2 separate regions of the Homo sapiens genome follow, and region 2 is linked to region 1. The links are contacts of gene promoters, found by promoter capture Hi-C in human tissues and cell types (Jung and others, 2019). All regions are on one chromosome and are shown on one strand. Each heading gives the region's core, a stretch centred on a gene start or on the middle of the fragment in contact. The rest is flanking DNA. Distances are from core to core; before and after follow the strand shown.

Region 1 (4,241 bases), core at 940-3,439:
CCCGCTCCCTCCTGGCTCTGGCGGCCGGGCCAGGCCTGCTGCTGGCTGCCTGTGGGCGCCGGCTGGTGCAGGGGGTTGATGGCGGCGGCGTACGCTTCCCCCAGATGCGAGTAGGGGTCGGCCGACTGGGAGTAGGCCAGCTGCTGGTAGGGAGGGGGAAAGTAGGGTGGCGGCTGATATTCGGCGACTCCAGTGTGGGAGAGGGGTGGCGCGGGGCTGTAGAGGTGCTGCCCGGCGGAGGAGAGGTGGGGGACCCGCGGATTCCCATTGCTGCTCCCGTCGTGGCGATCCTGGAGGGAAAAAAAAAAACAGGAGACCCCGTTAGTGCGAAACCCCGCTACTGCGAACTGGCCGGCATCGCCGGGCTACGCAGAGGGCCCCGGGGGACCAACCGCACCCCGCCCGGCGGGGCTTGCCCAGGGTCGGAAGGTACCCGGGGGCAATGCGCCCCGAGGATTTCGTTGTAAGCAAAGAGTGCGGGGAGGGAGGAGAGTCTGGTGAAAGACCTGGGGGAACGAGTTCTCAAAGCCCGGCGGCGAAGGTCTAGGCGCTGCTCCCAAGCCCGAGGCGCTTGGAGGCGCCAAGTCCGAACCCTGGGTCTTGGGCCAGAAAAGTCCGTGGCCGGAGCCCGGGGCGAAGGAGCCAGAGCCCGGGGCGAAGGAGCCGGACGCCCGGTGCAGAGCTATCTCGTGGAGCCCGCCCATGACGCAGGGACTGCTGGAGGTGGCAGCGCGGCAGGCGCGGATAGAGTGCGCGGCGCGGGAAATGCGCACCTCCCCCGCCCCCGGGACCCTCCCTTCCACGCCCTCGGGACAAAGACCTCCGAGCGGGCGGCGCTCGGAAAGCAGGGCCCGCCACCCTGCGCCGCCCTGGGAAGTGAAGAGGGAGCGCGCGCACAGGGCGGCCCTCCCTGCTGGCCGGGCCCAGCCGAGGGGAGTAATAAGTGGGGGCGCCCTGCACTGCCAAGGGCAGTGTTCTCGCACGTCGGGGCGCAGAGGGGGCATGAAGAACCCTGGAAATTGGGCAGCCTTGCCCGCGCACGTTCCCTCGCCCCTGGGCGGCCCGACTCAGTTTCTAAAGGATGCGTCCCCATCTGCCCAGGGGTCTCGGGGCGCCGGGAACCTGGAGGAACATGGCGCTGTCGCCTCCTGGCGGAAGCGCCCGGGCCTGCGGGCAGGGGCAGCCCTCCAGGGCCCGGAGGCGCAGTGAACTCCCGCGAGTCCGTAGCCCGAGCTCCGCGCTCCCGGCGCCCCTGAGCTCGCCTAGCGCTGCCTGCGTCTTCTTCCTCTTCCCGCTCGCCGCCTCCTTCTTCCCTCCCACTCTCCGAAACTCTAGCTCAACCTGTCCGACAGGCTGGAGCACTCGCGAGCTCTTACGGCCCCATCTGGCCTCGGGCACCCCCACCACCACTCCCCAGCCCCCACTTCTTTTGAAAGCCAAACTTCGGTTGTTTTCGTGCTTCCCCGAGGAGGTAGCGGGGCAGGTGACAAGCCGGCCTTGGAGGAGTGTCCGCCAAGGTGTCGCTAGCAGGTAGCCTCATCTGACCCCTTTGGACAGAGACTTCGTGCGTAAAAGCCACGTCTGAGGGTTGCAGACGGGGCACTTTTCCGAGAAAACGGGAAGCAGGGCTGTTTGCCGCTTAGGAAAGCGCCCGGTAAGCTGTGTGGGTGGGATTTGCCATTCTCTTTCCAGGCCTCGTTCCCGAGGGGAGGCTATTTAGGAAAAGGCCCTATACAGGAAAGGGGCCCCGCAGAAATGGACTAAGGGGTGTCCGGAGAAGTGGATCCCGTCCCACCGAGAGGCCAGGGCTCCTATGCCCTCGTCCCCGACCTCGGTCCAGTGGCCCCTGCCTCCCGGACTGTCCTCGGCGGGGCGGGGCTGCACCCCGGAGCCCCAGCTCACCTCGCAGTCCTCTTCGTACTTGACATTATCGGTTATTTTCCACAACATGGCGTCCGGCGTCCCCCAAAACAGTCGCCAGTTAAATCCAGGATCCCCCCAGCCCCCAAGCGGTAAATCCAAAATCGGGGTCACGGTGACCAGGCGTCTGCCGCCGCCCCCGCCGCGCGCGGGCCTTGCTGTCCGGGTCACTGGACACGCATCGGCGGCTCTGCGAGCGTAGATGCTGCCGCCGCGAGTGTCAAGACCGCTCCGCGGACGGGGAAAGCCGCGCCCGAACAGTGTGTCCTGGCGATAGCCGGGGGACCCGAGCGCCTTAATGAGAAGGAAATTATCATAACTCCTCCCCGGGGGCCGGCGCGGAGGCCCAGGCGCCGGGCGGGGCGGCCCCCAGCCAGTCCCAGCCTAGCTCCGCCCCGCACCCGGGCCTGGCGCAGCGCCGAGCCCCACGCTGTGAGGGACGAAGCGCGGAGTCAGTGGGCGGTGCCTCGTTGACAGCCGAAGACCTGCGAGGCCTGGGTCCCCCGACGCGCCTTCCTTCTGTCACCTCCACCGTAAACACACCTGAGATTGGCAGAGCTGGGGGAAGGGATCCAAATACTGAAACCCACCCCTCTTTCGCCTAAACGGCCTTCACTCGTTCCTCCAAAAGACGGATGTCACCTGGAGTTAAGAAACTGCGCATTTGGGGAGCGACTCAACAACCGGGGTCTCCTCATCTCCTAAAAACACATCCCATCCCACCTACACCCCACTGAGGCTTAAGGTCTGAGCTGGGATCATGCAGCTGGAGCCCCAGTGCGCCAGAGACGCCCAGTTCCCTCCGTGGGCACAGCGCGGTCCCGGCCCCCGGGCGGGAGGAGAGAGGAAGGGACTCCTGGGGAGTCTGCCCCAAGGGCCGCAGAGGCAGCAGACGGTCCTACCCGCCCAGGAGTTGCGGACAGCGGCGTCTCGCCGCTGTCGCCCGAAGTGGCATCTCCCGCGGCTGGCTGAGGCCAGGGGGAACCCGCGCGCACTGGACCAGCCCAGCGGCCCGGCCCTGCCCTGCCCTGCGGAACGCCGGCTCTGCAGCTGCCTCTGGCGGGCCGGTCACTCAGAAGCCTCTACTCGCCCTGGGAAAGAAGCGCCGGGCAGGAATAAAACCCGAGCGCCACGGGTAAGGTGAGGGTGAGGAGGTGCAGGAAGTTGGGAGAGAGCCTGCAGAGAGCTCTCGACTGGAGAGGTAGACACCCAGGTCCCACATGTTTAGACAGAAAACGAAACTTCCTTCCACACAAACGCTGCTTCCCTCTCCCCTTCGGTACTTGCCACCCAAACTTGAAAGCAAAGTGCAATACTAATTTTTAAAATTTAAACTAACGAAATTCTTTGGCCCAGTTATTATGCAGCAATTGACTTTCATTGTAAGGGGAACATCGCTAATTCTCGAGGGCGTATTTGTTGGGACGCCCCAACTGGCTCCCTGGGCTGGATTTAAACATTCTGTGGGGATTAGAGGACAAGACTATTTCTATTTGATACTGAATACGATTTTGCAATAATCAATGCCTATCAGTACGGTGTCCGCACCTGCAGTAGACATGACTCTCCCATCCACGGAATGGCGGCATCCACTGCCTCGCTGTTCCTTCTCGGGTTCGTTTGAACTTTAGCATTTATTTAGACCCAGGTGGGCCTAAAAGAAAATAATAATAATAGGCGTCCTCCAAGGGAAACTTTCCCCCGGCCTTAGACAGCAGCCAAATCCCAGGTGATTTTCCGACCGGACGCGGGAACAAAATCTGGAAGTTGAAACCACTGAGACTTTTCGGCCAAGCATATCTGCAGGGCTTTGCACTAAGGAGAACAGTGCATAAAAAGACACACAGGACCCTGACACTTCGGTCCCAAAACAGGCTTCTGGGGGTAAAATAAGTTACCGCAGAAGCAGCGCTCCTGGTATTAGCGGCGGGGGAGGGGGACACCTGCCAGAAGCAGAAATTAGACCCAGGCCCGCAGGCACTCCAGAGCACAGGTCCAGGAAGATGGGTCCTAGACTCGCCAGAGGTGCGGCGCCTCTTTCGGGCGCCTGGGACTCCCTGACGGGTGCCGCTGGGCTGTCCGACATTCTGGGCCTTCTAGCCCTCGGTTTTATTCTCTGACCCGGCCTGAGGTGCAGCTTGAACAAGCTGTCTTGTCTGTGCTGGCAAGTTTACCTCCTGCACGCTGGGGCCCGGAATGGGCAAGAAGGTGCTCATCCCCCATCCCAGGCCCTGGCTCTCCTTTCCCACAGCAACACTAGCCAAAGCTGCCCGGAGGAACCGATATGCCTCCCCGCCTGGGAGCGTCTACGCAGGAGGCGA
Region 2 (4,241 bases), core at 1,268-3,767, 290 kb before region 1:
AATACGAGGGTGGAGGAGGGAGGATTTTCTCAGATAAAACAGAATCTATGGGAACAAGTATTTTCAAAACTCTCTTACCTTTAGTGCCATCTCCAGGTCTTTGAAGCCAGACCCTCCAAAGCAGGCAGAGTTGAGAGGGGGCTGCCCCTCCTACTCAGCCTGAGGGGTGCTCCTCTGCCGGAAACCCCCTTTCAGAAGCAGGAGGGAGCCTTCAACAGAAAGAGAGAGGGAGGGCTGGAGCCTGGGAAACTGGCTTTATTCAGTTGTGCGCCAATGGCATTCAAGGATGGGGAGAACAAGGAATAATAAAAATAAGAATAAGAATGGCTGTCAGGGAGCAGGAAGCTGGACTACAGGGCCTTGGTTTCGGGACCTTACTTGGTCCAATTCTCACAACGATCAGGGTAGGTAAGGAGTGAGAGACATAACCCCATTTGCTGATAACATGCAAAATCAGAATGTAAAAGGACTACCTTTTAAGTTCCCATGACAGACCAGGCACTGAGCCAGACGCTCCACATGAATCTTCTTACTGAAATACGGCTGCCAGGTGGAGCAAATGAAAAGTTGGGACTTATGAATTTAAAAAAAAAATCATCGCTTATCTGAAATTCAGATTTAATTGGTGTCCTGTATTTTATCTGGCAACTTTGTACTGAGCCCTTACAACAAGTGATAGCTAAAATGATCACCCCATTTCCAGATATAGACTCAGCCTCAGAGAAGTTAAGTTACTTACCCAAAGCCACACAGCAAGTCAGTGGCTAGTGTGGCTTTTTCACCACGGTCAACTCCTTTAAGGAGCCCCAGTTGCCTGATGTCAGGAGAACACAAGAGTACATTCCCAACCACTGTGTCACCGGGCACCTTCCCTGGGTCACGCACGTTTGCTAGGCACTTTTCAAACAGTCTTCTGCAAACTCATTTTGGGTATCATTGCTGCCATGTAATAGATGAAGAAACGAGACGTTTCTTCATGATGACAAACGGGGCGTTTGGTCAACGTGACCAAGGTCACACAGCAAGTGTGTCTCCAAGTCAGTTCTTGGAACCGTTACCCACTATGTGGCAGAACCCTCACTGGATCCCAGCTCTCTTTTTGTCCCGCCTCGCTGGCTCTCCAGGGAAAGGTGGCCAAAGCACGGTGGGGGTGGAGGATGCCTTGACCCCATGGCTTTGCACAGTGAGTGGTTATTAGACGTCCAGGAGCCATTTGGACAGGTGAGTGTGCAGAAATCTCATGACGGGAAAAGTGTGGAGAAATCTCATCATGGGAAAAAGAGCATGTGGCACTCTTTTTTTTTTTTTTTTTTTTTTTTGAGATGGAGTCTCACTCTGTCACCCAGGCTGGAGTGCAGTTGCGTGATCTCAGCTCACTGCAAACTCTGCCTCCTGGGTTCAAGCAATTCTCCTGCCTCAGCCTCCCTAGAAGCCGGGGTTACAGTTTGCGCCCCCACACCCAGCTAATTTTTGTATTTTTAGTAGAGACAGGGTTTCACCATGTTGGCCAGGCTGATCTTGAACTTCTGACCTCAAGTGATCCACCCACCTTGGCCTCCCAAGTGCTGGGATTACAGGAATGAGCCACTGCACCTGGCCCCCTGTGGCATTTTTTAAGTGCTATGTGCTTCCATCGGTGTAATAAGAGAAGGCAGGGCGGGGGACTGCAGCTGCTTCTATATGCCTAGAATCTTCTGAATGATGCTCAAGGAGTGGTCCCAGTGGTTGACCCAGAGGAAAGAAGAGAATTATATTTTTGCTCCACATCAGGGGTTGGCAAAATTATCCAGATAATTGAGAACTCTTGAGTAATCTTGAGTAATCAAGTGTGCTTCCGAAATACATTGTGTAAAGCAGGAGTCGGCAAATCGAAGTCCTGGGCCGAATCCTGCCACCTGTCTGCTTTTGCAAATAAAGTTTTATTGGCACACAGCCAGCCCATTGGTGATGCATTGACCATGGCTGCTGTCACGTGTGGTCTGTCTGGCCCTTTACAGATAAAGCCTCATATCCCCTGCTCTTATACCTCTCTACTGTTCGAATATTTTTTGTAGATGTTAGTTTTTCATTAGGAAAACAAAAAAGGATTCAAGGGAAAACATTTTCATTTGAGTTGGCTTCATTTCCATAATTGGTTAATAAATCATCTTTCCTCATCTGGGTGGTCCAGGTGGGCAGCCAAAGGCGAAGGCGGCTGTGGAAGACCCCTCACCCTTGAGGGCCTTCTTCAGAACAGTTGGGGCCTCTGCTCCCACCATCTGAATGCTCACCAGGAATGATGCTGTTGCTGTGAGAACGCTTAGTGAAAATTTCTTTTGGGGCCTAAATTATGTTGCTCTTTCATCTGTTGTACTTTGTGGGTCACAAAACTAGTGGGGCTTCACTCTGAGTGGATGGCTACTGAGAGCTGAATTTGTTCAGTATTGGTCTCCAAGACCATCTAGCGTATGGGCATTAGTTTCCAATGACTGTAACAAGTTACCACAAACACAGTGGCTTAGAAAACCACAAATTTATTATCCCACAGTCTTAGAAGTCAGAAGTCCAAAATAAGTCTTGGGGAGCTAAAATCAAGGTGTTGGCAGGACTGCATCCCTTCTGGAGGCTCTAGAGAATTCGTTTCCTCATCTTTTCTAGCTTCTGGAGGCACCTGCTCTTTTGCAGGTTTTTAAAAGTTTTTTTCTTACAGCCTGCTCCTCCATCTTCAAAGCCAGCAGCGTAGCATCCTCCAGTCTCCCTCTGTCCCTCTCACCGACTCTTCTGTCATCAAGTGTGTTTCAGAAACACATTGTAGAAAGCAGTGTTTGGCAAACCACAGTCCCGGGGCCAAATCCTGCCAGCTGTCTGCTTTTGTAAATAAAGTTTTATTGGCACACAGCTAGCCCATTCATGATGCACTGACCACGGCTAATGTCACATGTGGTCTATCTGGCCCTTTACAGAAAAAGCTTGTAGATTAGTCTCCTTCAGTCTTTCTCTTTCACTGACACTTCTGTCTCTCTTGTATAGAGACCCTTATGAGCCAAGTGTGGTGGCTCACGCCTGTAATCCCTGCACTTTGGGAGGCCAAGGTGGGGGGAATCAGTTGATGTCAGGAGTTCAAGACCAGCTTGGCCAACATGGCAAAACCTGTCTCTACCATAAATACAAAAAACTAGCCAGGTGTGGGGGTGCGTGCCTGTAATTCCAGCTACTTGGGAAGCTGAGGCATGAGCATTGCTTGAACCTGGGAGGCAGAGGTTGCAGTGAGCCAAGATTGTGCTATTGCACTCCAGCCTGGGCAACAGAGTGAGACTCTGTCTAAAGAAAAAAAAAAAAAAGGAGGCCCTTGTAATTACATAGAGTCCATGCAGATAATCCAGGATAATCTCCTCATCTCAAGACTTAATTTAATTACATCTGCAAAGTCCTTTTGCCATGTAAGGTGACATATTCACAGGTTCCAAGGATTAGGACATGGAATCTTCTGAGGGCCACTATTCTGCCTACCGCAGCATGTTTATGTAGCCTTCTTCCCGGCTTTATCTTATATTTTTATTTATTTTCTTTTATATTTTATATGTTTCTCTATTTTCTTTTTTCCCCCAACTTCTAATTTAGGTTTCTTTCTTTTATTTTATGTATTCTTCAAGTGTCTTTAAATTCTCTTAAAAGGAAAGGTAAAAATAAATTGTTAATTTTTTTTTAACCCAGCAGGTGCTCACTAAATTGATGCCCAACCACACAAATTTCCAAGCTTGGTTCTGGGACAGCGGAGGTCAGTTTGATGAATCAGATTTTATTCCTGCTCCCAGGAGGTGAGGTGCCACCTAGGTACACCTGTCCAAGAGCAGGTGGCCTTAGGAACTCTACAGGTGGGTGAAGTGTGGGGGAGCTGTGTACCCAGCTTTGAGGAGTAGGGGAGGGCTGGGATGATTGGGGGCCTCCCTAGAGGGAGAAGGTTTTTAAGGCAGAGGAGGAAGATGAAAAGGAGGCAGTCAGATGAAGAGATGGCCTCCCTTCCCAGGGTGATATGAAATCAGTTAATCAATTCATTCATGGCTGATGATGGGGATGCTCTTATACCCTCAGCAGAAACAGGTTGAATGTTGTATGCAAGACACTTGAGGCAGTAGTGGCTCTGAGAGCTACTGACCTGGCTCAAATTCCCATCCCACCATGTCCTTGTTATGTAATCCAGTGACCCATGATCACCCAGTCTTCATGGACCTCGGTTTGTTTGTTTGTAGAATGGGGATAAT

The links. Contacts are between HindIII fragments. The study calls those that stand out against the background at their distance.
Region 2: a contact is called between a fragment that was not itself captured here and the fragment with the promoter of TFAP2C in region 1, in 1 of the 25 tissues and cell types used here (spleen).

The regions. Positions count from the first base shown.
Region 1 is chr20:56,627,254-56,631,494 of GRCh38, reverse strand. It overlaps TFAP2C (transcription factor AP-2 gamma), which reads right to left and starts at 2,189. Exons shown (of 7, transcript NM_003222.4): 1 at 1,903-2,189; 2 at 1-290. The coding sequence starts at 1,950. RefSeq lists silencers at 1,868-2,162, 2,219-2,278 and an enhancer at 3,642-4,241. The HindIII fragment of the contact is 13,903 bases long and covers 1-4,241 here.
Region 2 is chr20:56,913,340-56,917,580 of GRCh38, reverse strand. No RefSeq gene overlaps it. Among named protein-coding and RNA genes, the nearest start is that of TFAP2C, 290 kb to the right of the region's middle. The HindIII fragment of the contact is 7,048 bases long and covers 1-4,241 here.